Regions from separate parts of the Homo sapiens genome. Here regions 2, 3 and 4 are each linked to region 1. The links are contacts of gene promoters, found by promoter capture Hi-C in blood cells and fetal thymus (Javierre and others, 2016). All regions are on one chromosome and are shown on one strand. The core of a region is centred on a gene start or on the middle of the fragment in contact, and the rest is flanking DNA. Distances in the headings are between cores, read along the strand shown. Region 1 holds the start of LPO (lactoperoxidase). Region 2 overlaps HSF5 (heat shock transcription factor 5). Region 3 overlaps HSF5 (heat shock transcription factor 5). Region 4 overlaps RNF43 (ring finger protein 43).

The links. Contacts are between HindIII fragments. The CHiCAGO score rates a contact against its expected background, and 5 or more counts as called.
Region 2: a fragment that was not itself captured here is called in contact with the fragment with the promoter of LPO in region 1 in 2 of 17 cell types (M2 macrophages and erythroblasts); the score reaches 5.1 in M2 macrophages.
Region 3: a contact is called between a fragment that was not itself captured here and the fragment with the promoter of LPO in region 1, in 3 of 17 cell types (M2 macrophages, M1 macrophages and M0 macrophages). The highest score is 8.2, in M2 macrophages.
Region 4: a contact is called between a fragment that was not itself captured here and the fragment with the promoter of LPO in region 1, in 2 of 17 cell types (monocytes and M2 macrophages). The highest score is 5.6, in monocytes.

What each region holds. Positions count from the first base shown.
Region 1 is chr17:58,236,450-58,241,241 of GRCh38, forward strand. LPO (lactoperoxidase) reads left to right here and starts at 2,135. Exons shown (of 13, transcript NM_006151.3): 1 at 2,135-2,290. The HindIII fragment of the contact is 687 bases long and covers 1,678-2,364 here.
Region 2 is chr17:58,456,865-58,461,656 of GRCh38, forward strand. HSF5 (heat shock transcription factor 5) reads right to left here. Exons shown (of 6, transcript NM_001080439.3): 5 at 1,904-2,081. Among named protein-coding and RNA genes, the nearest start is that of HSF5, 29 kb to the right of the region's middle. The HindIII fragment of the contact is 807 bases long and covers 2,305-3,111 here.
Region 3 is chr17:58,434,870-58,439,661 of GRCh38, forward strand. The region is part of intron 5 of HSF5 (heat shock transcription factor 5); the gene reads right to left. Among named protein-coding and RNA genes, the nearest start is that of RNF43, 20 kb to the left of the region's middle. The HindIII fragment of the contact is 3,086 bases long and covers 1,272-4,357 here.
Region 4 is chr17:58,408,660-58,413,451 of GRCh38, forward strand. The region is part of intron 2 of RNF43 (ring finger protein 43); the gene reads right to left. Among named protein-coding and RNA genes, the nearest start is that of RNF43, 6.5 kb to the right of the region's middle. The HindIII fragment of the contact is 3,991 bases long and covers 625-4,615 here.

The DNA of each region.
Region 1 (4,792 bases), core at 885-3,384:
GCCAGCTATGTCCAAAATCAGTCTCATTTATAAACTGTGTGTTCCTGGGAAGTATGTGTGCATGTTTGTGTGTGTGTGTGGGTGTGTGTACTGTCATGTGCCAGCGATAGACCTTATCTTCATTGGGTACTCCCTGCTGCTGCTGCTTTTGCTAAAATATCTTGGACTCTGCACTGACATATGAGAAGCTATTGGCCTTTTTAGCTTTCTCCTGAACTTTCTGCCTTCCACTCTCCATTTCTCAGGCCAATTTGCCATTCCCACATGGGAAGACATCTACCTGTGCTACAGATTTGACTAGACTGAGATAAACCCATGAAAACATGTCATCACATGTCAGCAAAGCTCTCAAATAAAAATTAGCTATAGAACAATAGGCATGTCACTGTCAGATTGACTGCCTCCAGGTGTGCTTCACGGCCAATATCAAGGAAGGTCCTTACTGGGCTGGAGCTGACACTGCCCCATCCTATTTGACCCATTACAGAAAGACCAAAGCTAGGACATATCATATCATGTCATAACATGATAAAACCCGGGAATAATCAGACCTGTATTTTGCTGTTACCCTGACCAATAAGTCACTATATTTTGTACATAGGAAGCAATGTTATCCCATAGGGTCTTCTAAAAGGAAGTTCCATCTTCAGATTATTCAGAACCAACTAGGTCAAGATCTGCCTAACAACACAGCTTCCTGAACATATTAAGCATAAAACTCAGAGGCAAGAACCTTGAGAAACATGTGCCAAAGTTCAGGGAATGGTCAGACACAGAAAAACAATGCTTGGCTAAGGAGCTGAAGTGTGTTTCAAAGAAAACAAGAAGAGCCTGATGTCTCATTCACCTCTCCTGGACAGCTGCCTTCTTCCGAGATGCCCAGCTTATTTGCCTGGATTCATCACGAGAGAAGTAGTTTTTAGATATATTCCACCATCTAGAGAAAGGAAATATCACTTTTTTGAAGGCGAACCAAGAAGTCTGTTTTGGGGTTGATAAATTTCTGACAGTTGCTCCCAGAGTATTTTCAACTCAAAGTATAATTTCATAAAGAGGCTTATTATGTTTTAAATTGTCTGTCTGTAAAATATACTTTCATGAAATTTTGTTTTCTCGGAATCTTCCTTTTTCCTTCTTGTATGAATCTAATGAACTTGAATTTCCAAAGTCATTGAGGTAGGAAAGGTATGTAACATTATGCTTGAGCTTTAGGTCAATAATTTATACGATAGTGGTGGTTTTGTTTTGTTTCGTTTTGTTGAGACAGAGTCTCGTCCTGTCACCCAGGCTGGAGTGCAATGGCATGATCTTGGCTCACTGCAACCCCTGCCTCCCAGGTTCAAGTGATTCTCCCACCTCAGCCTCCCAGGTAGCTGGGATTACAGGTATGCACCTCCATGCCTGGTTAATTTTTGTGTTTTTAGTAGAGACAGGGTTTCACCATGTTGGCTGGGCTGGTCTCCAACTCCTGACCTCAAGTGATCCACCCACCTTGGCCTCCCAGATTCTGGAGTTTTTTAAATGGGTCACCCTATAGAAGGCATGAAGTCATAGAATCATAATAATCACCAAAACCAACCATTGATTTCAATACTAGAAAATTTGAGACACCAGAAGGTGAAGTGACTTGCCTAGAGCCATACAATGGCAGAGGCAGGGACTGCAACCCACTATGAAAGCTTAGGGCTCTTCTCACCCTTTGGTGGCCAAAAGTATTTTGAAATTTTGACCAAAAAAATTAATGTTTATTGATCACTTTAAATCCAAAAGATGAATCCACTGGATTCCACAGTAAATTGGGTGGAATGTAAGGGAGGGATCAAAGGGCAGTGAATATATGAATGGGGAGGAGAACCATTTAGCTAGGTGCAAAAGTAATTGCGGTTTTTGCAATACTTTTGCACCAACCTAATAATTGTTCATAATTCTAAGAGCTATTCGGATCCCATTAGGAGCTTAAAAGGGACAAATGTGCTCAGGGCATGCAGTTTTTGCCTTCCGGAACTAGATCAGGATCATGCATTTAAGCTAGAAAATGGAAAGAGGAGTTGCTTCACCCACAGTCAGTGCTATTGCATCAACCAATCCCTGCCATTCTGCAGTTTCCTGGTGTATCTGCCCGGAGTCACACAGTCTTTCCTGCTAAGCCTCAGCGTCTCCTCCAAGCCACATCAAAATCTTTCCTTCTGGGCCTTTCCCAGAAGTGAATTCTTGCTGGAAGGTATAAAAGACCAGCTCCTCCAAGCAGAGCAACTCCCTGGCTGCCGTGAAAAGACAAGGCACTGGGCAGGTAAGACTCGTCAACTTTCATCTTTCCTGGTTTCTGCAAAGTTGATGATGAAATTTCCTAACGTCTTCTCAGAAAGCTTAACACTGGATTTAGACTTGTCTCTATCAGGCACTTTCTGGTGCCAGCTTTAGCCACCCCATGGCACACTCCTCTTGTTTGGTATAAGAGAGAATGTAATTAAGCCTCCCCCCACCACTGTGGGGGAAAAAGGCTTTTCTGTGTCTGAAAACTATGTCAGAGAATCATAAACTCTTAGGGCTGGAAGGTACCATAGACCTCTCTTATCCACCTTGTTTAGGAACTGAGACTTAAGCAATTTAATGTGTCCAGAGTCACACAGGAATTTGGGGGAAAACAGTGACAGAATGGTGCTCCCTGTGCTGTTCTTGAGACAGTGTGATGAAATCTGGCCTCTCCACTATAGTGGAGATTTTGCAGTGTTTTAAGGGGTTCCCTAAGCCGGAGCTGTCAGGTCTTCATCTCATTTCCAGCATCTCATGCCTGCCATCTGCAGCAGATCCGACCATCTAGTTTGCCCTCAATGTCTAGTCCTAGCTGTCTTAAGTGCCCTGTGGACACCTGGCTCTCAAGCAGGTGTGTGACCTGTATGCAGCGGTAGTAGGCAGGCTTCATTTTGGGGGAATGGGGTGGTTAAATTATATTTGTTTTTTATGCAATTGTGTGCCTCAAATCTTTCAGTTGAAGTAGATTATTTCCGCTCTAGAGGGCTTGATAAGAGCTATCTCTTCATTCTCATCCTGATCTTGGAGTCACTCAAAAGATCAAGAGAGTGTTCCTGCAGGTGATGGGGCAAGAATTATGGCTTTCCTATTGGCTCACTCCACCACCCTCCACAGGGCTCTTTACAATCATGGAAGAGAATCTCACTGACTTCATCCCTTCTCAGGCCTTCCCCCTATCTCCTTGGTGACTGCTCAGCGACATTGAGAACCAAAGTCTGGAAGGCCTTGGTACTCAGAGTGTGGTCTGCAGACCAGCAACATCATCATCACCTGGAGCTTACTGGAAATGCAGACTTTCAGGCCCCTTCTATGACCTTCTGAGTCAGAATCTGCATTTACCAAAATCCCTAGGTGATAGTAGGCACATTACAGTGTGAGAGGCTTGCCGAGGGACTATCTCTGCCCTCTCCCTCTGCAACCTCCAGATGCTGAATTTCTCTGCTCTAGGAGTTTTATTCATTCAGCATGCACCCAACACCTATTATGTATTGACATGCTTAGGTCCTGGGAAAACAAATAAATAAGATGGAGCCCTTGAGGAGTTCATGGTCTGATAGGGGAAACAGATGTGAAGACAGTAATATGAGATATGGATGAAATACTGTGGGAGGACAGAAAAAGGAACGATCTAACTTTTCCTGGAGAAAACTGGTAAACTTCACAGAGGAGGTGAAATTTGGTCTGGGTTTTGAAGAATGAATAGGAGTTTATTAGCCAGAGAGGGTATTGTATAGGGAAGAGCATGAGTAGAGGCATGGGATTGTGGACCAGCCTGGCATTTGAGGGGCAAAGGCTGTGGCTCTGTCTCCAGATAGTGCTTCATGTCCCAGGGAAGGCTCCAGGCTTTGCTGCAAATCAAAGGGCTTGGGAAATGGTTTCTGCACTCAGCATGTTGATAAGAATATGGATAAATATCTACACATCACAGGAGCCTCTTGTTGGCCTCTTACACTCTAAAGCCCCAGGCCCTCTTGCCCTGTGTGGTTCTGGCTGAAGACAGTGTCCCTCTAGAATCTTTCTGCACACCCCCTTTTCAGTGACATGACCTTGTATTCACCTGGCTCTGATTTTTGTTCATACCCGTCCCTCACACCCACCAGGAACATTGCCCAAGACATGGGAAAATAATTTCTCTCTGGCCTTGAAGTCCCCCTCCTCCACTTTCCAGTGAGGAGAGCATGAAGGGGGTCCTAAAGAAGAGGAGAGGAGAATTGAATATTTAAGTATTGTTTCCTGTTCAAATTTCTCAACTTTCATGTCTTCTTCTATGATTTTGTCTTCCTCAGGCTGTCTCAGATGATGTCTTTTTAAAAAATGGACTAATTTTTTACTTTGTGTTTGTCATTTATTAGGAAACGCATTAGTCATTCAAAGAACAATATAATGAATGTTTGTGCCCACAGCCCTCTTTAAAAAAATCAGTGATATGGTGGTTGCCAGGAGCTAGGGGGAAGGGGAAATAGGGAGTTGGTGTTCAATGGGTATAGGGTTTCAGTTTTTACAGGATGAAAATGTTCTAGAGATCCATTGTGCAACATGTGAATATACCTAACATTACAGTACTGTAGAGTTTAAATGACTAGGATGCTAAATTTTATGCTATGTGGATTTTTGTTGTTGTTGTTCTTTTCTTTTCTTTTTTCTTTTTTTTTTTTTTTTTTTTTTTGAGCCAGGCTGGAGTGCAGTGGCGCAATCTTGGCTCACTGCAGCCTCCACCTCCCAGGTTCAAGGGATTCTCCTGCCTCAGTCTCCCGAGTAG
Region 2 (4,792 bases), core at 1,458-3,957, 220 kb after region 1:
ATAATCCCAGCACTTTGAGAGGTCAAGGCAGGAGGACTGCTTGAGCCTAGGAGTGCAAGACCAGCCTGGGCAACATAGTGAGACCCCATCTCTATAAAAAATGAAAAAAGGCAGCTGGGTGCAGTGGCTCATGCCTGCAATCCCAGCACTGTGGGAGGCCGAGGCAGGCAGATCACCTGAGGTCAGGAGTTCAAGACCAGCCTGGCCAACATGGCGGAAACCTTGCCTCTGCTAAAAATACAAAAATTAGCTAGTCGTGGTGGAGTGTGCCTGTAATCCCAGCTACTCAGGAGGCTGAGGCAGGAGAATCACTTAAACCTGGGAGGTGGAAGTTGCAGTGAGCCAAGATCACGCCATTGCACTACAGCCCGGGCAACAGAGCAAGACTCTGTCTCAGAAAAAAAAAATAATAATAATAATAAAGAAAAGGAAAAGGAAAGAAAAGAAAAAAGGGCCAGGCATGGTGGCTCATGCCTGTAATCCCAGCACTTTAGGAGGCCGAGGTGGGTGGATCACTTGAGGCCAGGAGTTCAAGACCAGCCTGGCCAACATGGTGAAACCCCATCTCTACTAAAAATACAAAAATTAGCCGGGTGTGGTGCCACGCACCTGTAGTCCCAGCTACTCGGGAGGCTGAGCCATGAGAATTGCTGGAATCTATGAGGTGGAGGCTGCAGTGAGCCAAGATGCGCCACTGCATTCTAGCCCGGGCAACAGAGAAAGACTCTGTCTCTAAAAAATGAAAAAATAAAACAAATTTATATGTGACTTTGAACAAGTTACTTACTCTAAGCCTAAATTTCCTGATGTTTAAAATGACAATGCCACTTCCAACAGATTTGTCCTATGGCACAAAAATGGATACGGTAAATGTTAGTTCCTGCCTTTCTCTCATCTAAATTGCCTTCAAGGCTCATGCCATTGTGTTAAACACCTTCAGTGGTAAGAAATCTTTAGTCTTTAATTATGGATTGGAAAATATAATCAACTAAAAGTGTGCAAGCTAAATTTAGTGAATAAATGATAGACAGTTTTTAGCCTAAAAGACATTTTGCAGAAAGAACCCTATGAGTCTGAGCTACACCATGATCATATCACTATTAATTTACTTTTTGGAAAAATTCTCACAGAAGTTCTCAACATTTTTCAAATTATTGTAGGTTAAAATGATGGTCTGTCATTTTAACCTACACTGTCATTCTGCCTGCACTGCATGCCCCTGACATGAACATAATTCTAGAATATTAAAATTGTCCACTGCAGACTTTGGTAACTTGATTTTTGGATGATATGAGACACATGTTTTATTAGATGTTACTATTTCTTCAAAAAATATGATTTTGTCTTATTAGAATCAACTGTATGTGCCTAAAACAATCACTTATTCTGGGTTCTTACAAACCACAAGAATAACAAACCATTCATTGGTATAGGGTCATACTTTATAGTATCTTTAAAATGCGCTCAGGATAATATCCTAAATTTCCATCTGATTTTCTCTTGTCACAATATAAATGCATGCCCTCTTGTCCTAGAGTCTGTTAATAACAGAGTAAGTACAACTACAATTTCGAAGTCTGGCATCTGAGGATACTTATTAAATCATCCTTCATCCTTGCCTTCTCCAAGTTAAATAATCTAAATTCCTTTGCTTATTCTTAATATGTTCTATATTTTCAAAGCCCAAATCATTATATGCAATATTAAGAAAATAACTATTACATACTTCACAACAATAATTAAGAACAAATATAGAGTTAAAATTACAGCTATGTAAAAACAGCAATGTGACAGGTCTAATACAATTATGAATAATAAATGGAGACCCAGAAAAAATGTCATTCATATATTAATTCTACAGCGTGATTCTACTTCTGGCATTCTAGAGCACAATAATCCTTACCAGGGGACTTTCCTTGTTGTGAGTTGCTTCTGTGCTCTCTGTATCTGGCTGGAGTGGCTAAACCTGTGTCTTCACTAGGCTTGCTAGCAGGCCCCATTTCTGAAATGAGGAATCCCATCTGTTCTGACGGCAAGATATTCTCACGTGAACTGGTCTGGCATTTTATGTTGGCATCCACCTAAAATATTAAACCCATTCATTATTTGAGATTTCCTCCAAATATCTGCTAAAAGTTAAGATATTTTATCAGAGGAGTTCTATTATGGGAACATGATCCAACAAACAAGCTTATAAGGCTTTTCATTCTTATTATTGATACTATACCTTTCTCCCTACACAAACTATTAAAATGTATATGGAGCTAAAACATTTACTTATGATCAGAGGAATATCTACCATGAAGCTTGTTGATTTTTTTTTAACTTACAAAAGTACAGGTTTTTTTTTTTGTTTTAAGGCAGGGTCTCACATTGTTGTCCAGGCGGGAGTACAGTGGTACAATCATAGCTCACTGTAACCTCGAGCTCATGGGCTCAAGTGATCCTCCTGAGCAGCTAGGACTACAGGTATTAGCTAATTTTTAAAAAGTTTTTTTGTAGGCCGGGCGCGGTAGCTCACAGCTGTAATCCCAGCACTTTGGGAGGCCAAGGTGGGCAGATCATGAGGTCAGGAGTTCTCGACCAGCCTGGCCAGCATGGTGAAACCCTGTCTCTACCAAAAATACAAAAAATTAGCCGGGCGTGGTAGCAGGTGCCTGTAATCCCAGCTATTCGGGAGGCTGAGGCAGGAGAATCGCTTGAACCCAGGAGATGGAGGTTGCAGTGAGCCGAGATTGTACCACTGCACTCCAGCCTGGGCAACAGAGTGAGACTACATCTCAAAAAAAAAAAAAAAAGGTTTTTTTGTAGAGACAGGGTCTCGCTATGTTGCCCAGGCTGGTAACTCCTGGTCTCAGGGGATCTTTCCACCTGGGCCTCCCAAAGCACTGGGTTTACAGACGTGAGCCACCACACCTGACCAAAAGTAAGATAGTTTCACCATGATTGGTTAAAACCATCTTTTTTCTCTGTAGAATATGTTCTATCAGACTTCCTCTCCTGTTGGAATGGCCATAGGCATGATCCTGTTAGATGGTTTCAGTGGGATGTGGATACTTTATTCTACTAATTTTGTATTCTTTCTCTTAAAGAGGCCCTCAAAATTGTATAAGCTTTAGCCCCTATAAAATCTATATCTGCCCTGTTTATAAAATACAAATTTCTTTCTTTCAGACAGGGTCTCATTCTGTTGCCCAGGCTGGAGTGTAGTGGTGTGATCACGGCTCACTACAGCCTTGACCTCCCAGGCTCAAGCTATCCTCCCACCTCAGCCTCCCAAGTACCTAGGACACAGGTGTATGCCACCACACCAAGCTAATTTTTAAAATGTTTTTGTAGGGATAGACTCTCACTATGTTGCCCAGACCAGTCTGGACTTCCTGGGTTCAAGCGATCCTCCCACCTCAGCTTCCAAAGGTGCTAGAATTACAGGCATAAGCTACTATGCCTAGCCTAAGTTTCTTTCTTACAGTTCCTAAATTTTCTTTGGAATGTAAATCCCTTTGTCAAGTTGATCAACTTCTGAAATACTCCATTTCTTTATGAATTTATTTTAAAATAAAATTATATAATGAAATAAAAAGTTTAAAACACAGCTTTATATACATATATATACACACACACACACACACACACACACACACACATACTTTTTTTTTTTTTGAGACGGAGTCTCGCTCTGTCGCCCAGGCTGGAGTGCAGTGGCGCGATCTCAGCTCGCCACAAGCTCCACCTCCTGGGTTCATGCCATTCTCCTGCCTCAGCCTCCCGAGTAGCTGGGACTACAGGCACCCACCACCACGCCCGGCTAATTTTTTGTATTTTTAGTAGAGACAGGGTTTCACCGTGTTAACCAGGATGGTCTCGATCTCCTGACCTCATGATCTGTCCGCCTCGGCCTCCCAAAGTGCTGGGATTACAGACGTGAGCCACTGCGCCTGGCCAAGATATATTTGTTAATGAAAAAGTTACTGTGTACAAGTGCAGTTTTAAGATCTGAAATATTTCAGATGTGACTATGAAGGAACAAAGACAAATTCTGTGTTCTACAAATATATTTAAAACATAATGGGGCCAGGTGCAGTGGCTCACGCCTGTAATCCCAGCACTTTGGGAGGCCGAGGTGGGCGGATCACCTTAGGTCAGGAGTTCAACACCAGCCAACATGGTGAAACCCTGTCTCTACTAAAAATACAAAAAAATAGCCAGCCTGGGGGGACACACCTGTAATCCTGGTTACTCAGGAGGCTGAGGCAGAAGGATTCCTTGAACCCAGGAGGTGGAGGTTGCAGTGAGCCAAGATTGCGCTACTGCACTCCAGCCCGAGCAACAGAGCGAGATTCCATCTCACAACAACAACAACAACAACAACAACAACAACAACAACAACAACAACAAACCATAATGGGCCTATATTTTGTCTACTGAATTTACAATATTATCTTAACACAATATACTAGATCTTGACAGTCAGGCTAAAAAAAAATGAGGTGATATAAATTTAAGACATTTGGATCTAAAAATAGAGCTAAAAAAGGCTGCAAAAAACAAAAACCTGCCAAAAGTTATCTTGGGACTTTCTAACAATGAACAGAGTTTCAGTCCTATTGAAGAAAAAATCCAAAATGGAAAAAAAATATATACACATATCAGGCTAAGATCAAGAAAAAAATAAAAAGTAGGAAAAAATACTTAATTCACACACAAAAAAAGATTTTAATTTGGGGCCAAGCACAGTGGCTCATGCCTGTAATCCCAGCACTGTGGGAGGCCAAGGCAGGTGGATCACCTG
Region 3 (4,792 bases), core at 1,565-4,064, 200 kb after region 1:
AAAGATACAATGTGATTATTGAAGAGTAAGGGGGATAGCAGTAGGTCCTAAGTCTGTGAGTACACCAAAGGGGACAGGATTCTGTATACAAATGAAAGGACTGGCCCTTTTCCATTATAACAGAAGGAAAGGCAGCGTGTAGGGTTACAATTGGAAGTAGACTGATAAATATGTTGGTGGGAAGATATGAAAGCTTCATTCTAGCTGCTTCTATTTTCTCAGTAAGATATAAAACAGGGTCACAGCCACGAATGAAGAGAGAGGAGGAGTGTTGGAAACGGAGCAGAGAGGACAGGATATAATAGAGTGGCTTTGGAGAATGGGGAATATATTGACTAGAAAATATTATAGGACTGCTGCAACACTGACAGCCTACGTGAATTTAAAGTGAGACTAAGGCGGGGTGCAGTAGCTCATGCCTGTAATCCCAGCACTTTGGGAGGCCAAGGTGGGTAGATCACCTGAGGTCAGGAGTTCAAGACCAACCTGGCCAACATGGCAAGACCCCATCTCTACTAAAAATACAAAAATCAGTTGTGTGGTGGCTCATGCCTGTAGTCTCAGCTATTTGGGAGGCTGAAGCACGAGAATCGCTTGAACCCAGGAGGCGGAGGTTGCAGTGAGTCGAGATCACGCCACTGCACTCCAGCCTAGGCAACAGAGTGAGATTCCAGCTCAATAAATAAACAAATAAATAAATAAATAGAGACTAGCCATCTGAAAAGTAACCAGTGGTAATAAACATAAGAACAGTAAATATTGGCTGGGCGCTGTGGCTCATGCCTGTAATCCCAGCACTTTGGGAGGCTGAGGCGAGCAGGAGATCGAGACCATCCTGGCTAACATGGTGAAACCCCATCTCTACTAAATATACAAAAAATTAGCCGGGCATGGTGGCGGGCGCCTGTAGTCCCAGCTACTCGGGAGGCTGAGGCAGGAGAATGGTGTGAACCTGGGAGGTGGAGCTTGTAGTGAGCCAAGATCACGCCACTGCACCGCAGCCTGGGCGACAGAGCGAGACTCCATCTCAAAAAAAAAAAAAAAAAAAAAGTAAATGTTATAAAAATAGCTAAAATTCTATTGCTACTATGTATGGACTACTTACTATGTAACCCAGCATAATACTAAGCCAGTTCTATGATTTATATCATTATAATCCATATTCCTCATTTTGCAGATGAGGACACCAAAGCTCAGTTAGGTAAACACGTCCAAGGTCACACAGTAAAGAGCAGAATCCAGGTTTTAATGCAGGTTTTTCTAACACCAAAAGCTTTCTTTCTAACCATATGCTGTACTGTTTTTAATGAGCAGTATATTAATCTCACACATTGACTTTGGTTAAGGTCTCTTAATGCCATGGGACCTTACATATAGCCATGTTTTCATAGACCAACTGCTAGGCCAAGGTCTATCAGAGCAGAATCATTTGCAACTTCATGAATTGTATTTCTGCCTACACTTTAATTAAAAAACTTTTTTTTTTTTTAGCAGAGAGGTTCTAGCTTAATCATAACTCATTTTCCTCTTGTCCATAATAAAATGAAAATGTGATTAGGTGTCATAATGATGCCAAGATTTCACAACTCTTATGTTTCACAGCAGGAAGCCAACATCAATTAAGACTCATCTATTAACTGCACTGACCAAAGGATAAGGCTTTACTTAGAAAAAAAAAACAACAGGAAGAGTTAATAAAGATAATTACTGTGCTAATTATTTTATCAGTTACACTTATAACCATAACATGTAGTGAAAGAGAGGAAATTATTTTTTTAACAGCAGGCACCAGAGTTCCTCTCAGGGAGGTAATTGTCTTTGTTGAGGAATATGTCTCGATAGATTGTTCTGGTTGGGAAAAATGACGCCTTAAAAACATCAAAAAATAGAAGAGATACCTAACCTTCTTTGCCTAAGTAAAACACAGGAATTCAGCACCTGGGGAAAGAGCAGAAAAAAAAAACCAACCATAACAACAACAACAACAGAAAGCAGAGAAACGAAGGTCTGGTGCTAGTACAAGGAAAGAAAGCAACATGGCAGAGGACCATATTGACTAGTGACAAGGAAAGATGCCGTAAAGTGACTGGGGGCCTTTTAATTCCATTTTTGCGGTATTCTAAATATTTCTGTCGGTATTTCTGCCTCCCGACATCTTCATAAAAGTGTGCTACACATACACATGCCTAGCATAATGCTTAAAGGGAGGAAGAGGTCAAAGAAAGTGGGCCAAGTTCTGCATCTGGTATAGCATGGAACAGACAGATAAGAACAGCCCTGGGAGGTCAGATATGGACAAGTCTGGAATTACATTTAAGCAGAAACTCAAAAATAAAAGCTACTGTGAACCCTAGAAAGTCTCAGAAATCTTAGAAAGGCATTCTTGGTATAGGGTAAGTTTATCTTGAGTCAATCATATCTAAACCTCAAAAGTCAGTTTACTATCTGGGATATAAATATTTTTTAAAAACACTCTGAAATTGTTCATTTCTATTACTTTAAGGCTTTTATATTCCTGCTATAGGAACACTTCAAGTATTTAAACTACTTTTAGTATTTTTAGATTTTTTAAAATTTGAAAAACATAGAAGAATACAGATGGTGAAAATTTCCCGTAATCCTATTATATATACATATACAAATTGAGAAGTTAAGCATACCCCTGCACCCATACATTCTATCTTCTGAGAGATAACTAGTGTTATATTTATCAGCTATATCGTATATCTCCAGACTTTTTTCTATAATTTTACAGCATATACTTTCTTTTCTTTCTTTCTAGAAAGGGGGTTGTGCTAGACATATTGTGTTGCAACTTACCCATTTGCTGAACACATTATGAACACTTACTGTCTTTCCAGGTCACAACACATCAAGCTACTTCAGTTTCTTAAATGGTTGCACAGTATTTTATTATGTAGATGTCATAATGTATCTGGTTCCCCACTGTCAGGCATTTATGCTTTTCTCAAATTTTTGCTATTATAAATAACACTATAGCAAACTTATTTTGAGTACCTTTGGGAATATACACATTTCTACAGGAGAGATTCCCAGGAGTAGAGTTCCTGAGTCAAAACTCATAAGCATTTTAGTTATCTATAAATAATGCCAATTGTCCTTTATAGGGCTATACGAATTTACATTCCAATTACAGCATAGAGAAGGTTCCTTTTCTCTATACCTTTATCAAAGCTGGATATTATCAACAGTTAAAGTTTTGCCAATCAAATTGCCAAAAAAAAAAATAATTGGTTGATTTTGGTCAGTGACAGACCATATAGATGATGATGATTCTGTAAGATTGTACTCTATTTTTACTGTACCATTTCTATGCTTAGCTATGTTTAGATACACAAATACCACTGTATTACAATTGCTTACAATATTCAATACAGTAACATGCTGTAAGGGTTTGTAGCCTAGAAGCAATAGGCTATACTATACAGCCTAGGTATGTAGTAGGCAACATCATCTAGGTTTGTGTAAGTACAATTCACAATGTTTATAAAACAATAACATTAACTAATGACATAGTTCTCAGAATACATTCCTGTCATTAAGGGATACATGATTATATGTGCTACTGGCTTTGCAGTCAGGCAGCACATGGTTAGGACACAGCAAGCTAGAATGTTGGTGATCTTTGTTATCCATGCCAACATATTTGGTAAAATCATTACCTGTGACACCATGGAAGTCAGACCACACATGCCAAGTGAACATACAACCATGGGGGAAAAGATTGACAAAAATCACAAGGTGTTGACTATTTCTTGACACATTCAGCAAAGCCCTAAAAGAAGAGATAAACTCAGGCTAGAGGTACCTAGTGTGCAAGCAGAGATGGAAGGGAATATTTGACTGCCTGTGGTTGACAACTTATTGACTAGAGTTCAGTAACTGGGTCATGAATCCAACTGCTTCAATACCCCAACCTGAAGTTGCACTAAGAAGTGCCTTAAGGCCAGGCATGGTGGCTGACACCTGTAATCCCAGCACTTTGGGAGGCTAAGTTGGGAGGATTGCTTGAGACCAGGAGTTGGAGATCAGCCTGGGCAACACAGTGAGACTCCATCTCTTTGAAAAGTAAAAAAAAATCAGCTAGGTGTGGTGGCATGTGCCTGTAGTCCCAGCTACTTCTTTGGGGGGTTGGGGGTAGGTTGGTTGAGGTGGGAGGATCACTTTAGCCCAGAGATCAAGGCTGCAGTGAGCTATGATCGTGCCAGACTAGGCAACAGAGTGAGACCCTGCCTCAAAAAAAAAATAATAATAAATAAAAAAAATTGGTGGTACATGCTGATTAACATTAAGCTAAGCCCAACAGTTGACAAATCTTGTCAACAGAGCTTCTGTAAGCTTTTTAATGCTCCATTCTTGAATAGGGAAGAAAGCCAATGGAAAAAAAAAACAAAAACAACAACAACCAAAAAAAAAAACCAGAAAGAACGTAGAGGAAACTGACATATGTTGTGGGGAAACAACTTCAAAACCAGCCCTTCCATTTAGTATCCTCAGAGAGCTATAAGAAGATATTATATCCATATAAAAGAACAGCAAGTTCCCCCAAAAAGGAACAATTATAGAATAGAATAAAAAAGAGCTGTTAGAAGTTATAATTTTTTTTTTTTTGAGACGGAGTTTTGCTCTTGTTGCCCAGGCTAAAGTGCAATAGCGCGATCTCGGCTCACTGCAACCTCCACCTCCCGGGTTCAAGCAATTCTCCTGCCTTAGCCTCCTGAGTAGCTGGCATTACAAGCATGCGCCACCATGCCCAGCTAATTCTGTATTT
Region 4 (4,792 bases), core at 1,370-3,869, 170 kb after region 1:
AGAAGAGTAAAGGAACATAGCCTGCTATATCAAGCCACACACACTCAAAATAATCCACCTTATAACATACTTTAAAAATGTGATAAGCATGTTTTATTCTAGAGTGATCTCCCAGCCATCAGAGTTACTCAATACCACAATATTCATTATATTCATTAATAAATATTTACTGAGTACCCACCATGCCCAAGGAGTAAGTATACTTAGGTGCCATTCTCAGGGATACAGCTTTGAACAAAGGAGACAAAAATCCTTGCTTTCACAGAACTCATATTCCACTGTGGGGAGATAGACAACTACAAAACTGAAACATTACAGCATGCCACGTCAATAATTCTGTAAAGAAAAATGAAGCAGGAAAGGAGAATATGAGTCCTCAGGGAAATAGGAAAAGACCTTTAGGATTTCCACTCAGTAGAACTGACCCCTGAGGAATCCACATCTTCAGATTCCTTAAAAATTGATTACTCTCCTATCTCCTGCAAACCAGACTGGCTCAGTCTCTGTGCAACTTTGTTCTTAGATGATTTACTTTCTTTCTCTTTCCCAATATATTTCCTTTTCTGTAAAATGGAGTTAATATCACCTGTTCTTACGTGGCTCCAGGTATTGCAAATCATTTTAAGCTTCTTGGAAGAAAATTTCTACATAAAGTTAATGGAATATCATTCTCACAGCCTTCTCTAACAATATCCTGCTACCAATTCTGGTTCCTAACAGGATATTACTCATCTATAACATTTTAAAAAATCTACTGTAATTAGCAATTTGAAAGGGATAAAAGGGAAAAAAACATTTAAAAAATCCAATAAACTCTTTCCAATGAACAAAATGTAAAGACTTTTTAATAAAACAAAAACAAAAAGCAAAACCATGATCTCCAGGAATACCTTGTTTCTTAGACGGTCTCACTATGTTGCCCAGACTGGTCTCCAACTCCTGGGCTCAAGTGATCCTCCCACCTTAGCCTCTCACGGTGCTGGGATTACAGGCATGAGCCACCACACCTGGCCCGGGAATACCTTTAATACTGCAGACAGCAGGGCAAAACCCTGTCTCTACAAAAAATTGAAATATTAGCTGGGCATGGTGCCCCGTGCTTGTGGTCCCAGCTACTTGGGGGAGCTGAAGTGGGCAGATCGCTTGAGACTAGGAGGTTGAGGCTGCAGTGAGCCGTGTCTGTGCCACTGCCCTCCATCCTGGAAGACAGAACAAGACCCTATCTCAAAATACAAAGAAACAAAAAAAGTAAAGTAAATTATGGCTAGTTTTGGGCTAATTACAACACACACACATATATACATACACACTTTACTATAATACAAAACCCAAGGAAGTACCTACCCCCCCAGCCCCGCCCCCCACCAACCGAGAGTCTGCCAAATGAACACTAAATAGCCTGATGGGAGCAATAGCCAGGGACATATTTCATTCATTACCTCCTATTAACCAGATATGTACGAAGCTGAACTTACAAATTTTTGTTGGATACAAATTTTTGTTGAAGTACAGAACTGTGATATATATAAATCTGTTTGATGATAACTTATAAAAGAGATATCTTCTTAACTTGAAAAATTATCATTAAAAATATTCTGCAGCTTCCTTCTATTCTGTGGGTGCCAGGCTTCTAACAACAAGGCCAAGTCTAGAATAGAAGACTCTAAAAGCCATGTCAGGAAGGCTCTGAGCTGGGATCACAGGAGACAAGCACCTAAGAATGTTTGTGCGCACAGAGGAACTGTGTCTGATGGTGTACTCCTGACTACATTCCAAAGTCAGTAATTAATTAATTGGATTTTCTGCACCTTCATTTACATAAGTAACAGAGTTGATCATACTTTGAATATCTACTCTGTACTTCTTCTAAAGGCTGGCATCAAAACAAAATCACAAAATTTCTATTTCAAAATTTCTTCATAGAAGGAACTCTAACTTGAGCAATGCCAGTTAAATGCATGCTATGTCAGTGTTTATTATTTCAGGTTCCTATATTAGATAACTTAACCTAGACTTTTAAAATGAAGAGAAAGGTGATGAAATATGTTACATTATAAGGGAGATACTGAGTAAACAGACATTGTGATTTACTAGTATCTTTGCAAATGAAACACAAAATGAGAGAAATAGAAGAAATACAGAGATTATTAGAAGGTAGCAGGATATGATGCACTCTGGATCAATCTCAGATAATGGTACTCATCACTTTCATTCCTTTCTACTCTGGAAATAAATTTTTTATACAAAGCCTATACTGATATTCTCTTCATCTGTGGCATTCTTACATATACAGAATTTTAGAGCTGGAAAAGCATGGGCTCTGCAGTTCAAGTTCCAGCAACACCACTTACTAGATAATAATAGTTAATACTTTGACAGATATTAACATTTTAATCCTCAGTTTCCTTATCTGTAAAATGTAAAAAATAAAGGTACTGAATTTCTTCTCTCATAAAGTTATTATGAGAATTCAGTGAGCTAATACATGTAAAGTGCATGTAAATAGCACAAGTTTGGCAATATTGTATTTTAATTCCTCAACTTCACAGCCTGGGAATCTGAAGCCTAGAAAGGTAAACACTATTTTGTCCCAAATCACACAACTATTAATATTTAGTGTCAGCATATTCTTCTGTGTGTAGAACTAAAAGTCAAGCCCCCCAAGTCACAGTTTAGACACTTTGTCAACTATAGTTTGCAATATAGGACTGTCTCTCTAGCTTTGGCCAAAAACTTAAAGTTTCAGGTCCTGCCTACAAATAATGTAAAAATGCAAAGATGGGATAACTATGTGTTGACTAACAGATAAAATTAAGAGGCAAGCAGAGACATTGTGCAAAGGGGAATTTCTCCAGGAGGTGCTCACTGCTACTGGCCAAGTGCTAAACTACTGCTGCTCCCATTGTAGGTCTGAAGACTCAGGGGAATACATTTTAATCTTGATCATAACTTTATCCTGGAGTCTAAGAAAATCCAGGATAACCAGCTGAGCAGGAAGAGTGTGATAGAGAATTGGTGACCTCTTTGTGCTACACTAAGATCCTCTTACTCTTTTGCTCTGAGAAGAAAGATTAATTTTGAGTTGTCCCTTGAAATAATATTTATAAATGATAAACAGGATTGAGAAATAAAATATGACTGTAATCACTTTTAGAAGTGGTGGCAATAATATTGCTTGAAATAAAAGAAACAAACATTGATAAGAGGTAACCAAACCAGAAAACCGGAAATTAGACAATGAATCAGCTCCAACACTTTTCCTTCTACAATGGTATAAACCAGGAGAGAAAGAATATATTCCAATGTGAATAAAAACAGTAAGAAGTAATCACTATCATTTAGTCCTTTTTATCAGTCACCGCCAGGTAATTAGGAGATCTGAAAAGTTTCCTTGACCTAGATTTTTGATGGCTATTAAAATACCAATCCAGAATAGCAGTGGAAGGTAATCCTAAATATACAAATTCAGTGGAAAACAAAAGAAAAATAAAAGAGTGGAAGGAAATCAGAGAAGAGGAAGAGACAAATATTTTGGCAAATATAGGGGAAACCTAAGAATTAGATACTTTAAAGACAATGACAAACCTGCAAAAAGAGTTGGAATGATACAGTAATATAAAGAAGCAACTCTTGGGGAAAATAATAAAATTTGGACAGGACTAAAATGAGATGTTCTGAAATGGAAAAGAGAGGACTTGAGAAATAGAAGGGCAAAGGCAACACCATTTCCTCTTCTATTTTGACTTTCTTCTAGCGCTTTTAGAAGAATATTACAATTTATAATTTTGAACATACCTTGTAAAATGAATCATTACTATTGGCAAGGAGAAACCTAAGCACAAAGACTGAGAGATAAGAATCAGAACAAAAATCATCAAAACTTGACTTTTAATGCCCTTATACATACAGCCATCAGATAAAGTTGAGACAAAATTCTTTTAGAGGCAATTCTATGGTCTATTTTACTATTCAACAAATTGGGGGCACATTGTCAAGGGGGGGGGTCTCCTTTTGTCTAAGAAAAAATTAAAATCATAATACAAATGAAAATTCAGTCAGTTTGGTCCTTATGAAATTGTCTATACACTGAATTAATTGAGCAAAATGTAAAGAAATGTCTGATTTTCAGAAATTATCTCAGAATTCCAGAAATAACAACATGGTTTTTTTTTTTTTAAATCACTGTTCTCATAACTGTACATTTTTTGGTACATACATAGCATCCTCAAGTTTAAAAAGATTTGACTGCAATCTTTGGAGACAAATAATCTTAACAGGTAACTACAACAATTCATAGGTAGAAGGATTCACAGAATTATCCAGAATTCCTCAAAACCGAAGAGAAGACTACTTTTAGATTTCTGACACCAGGGTACAGCTCTCCATTGAGAAAGCTAAAGTTCAGCAAAGCACATCTCTAGAAGATATAAACAGAACTTCAGTTAAATGGAAGGCTTGGCTAACCACAGTTGAGTAAACCTGAGTTGCAGTGTAATCTGATAAGGAACAAACAGCATGGATTCCAGAAGTGTAAACCATGTGTCCCTAACACACTAGAGTTCTTTGAAAGAATTAATCAAAGAATGGATAAAGAAAACCATATATATAATTCAGAAGCTTGTTTTTTAAAAAAGTTTCTCACAAGAGGCTGTTGAAAAACTTTAATAACTGTTGTAGATTAAAAATTGATTAACAGACAATAAACCGAAACCAATATGGAAAGTATCCAGAAATGAATACTAAGCTAGTGAAAAAACTTATTTAAAGACCTAAACGAAGCATATGTGGACAG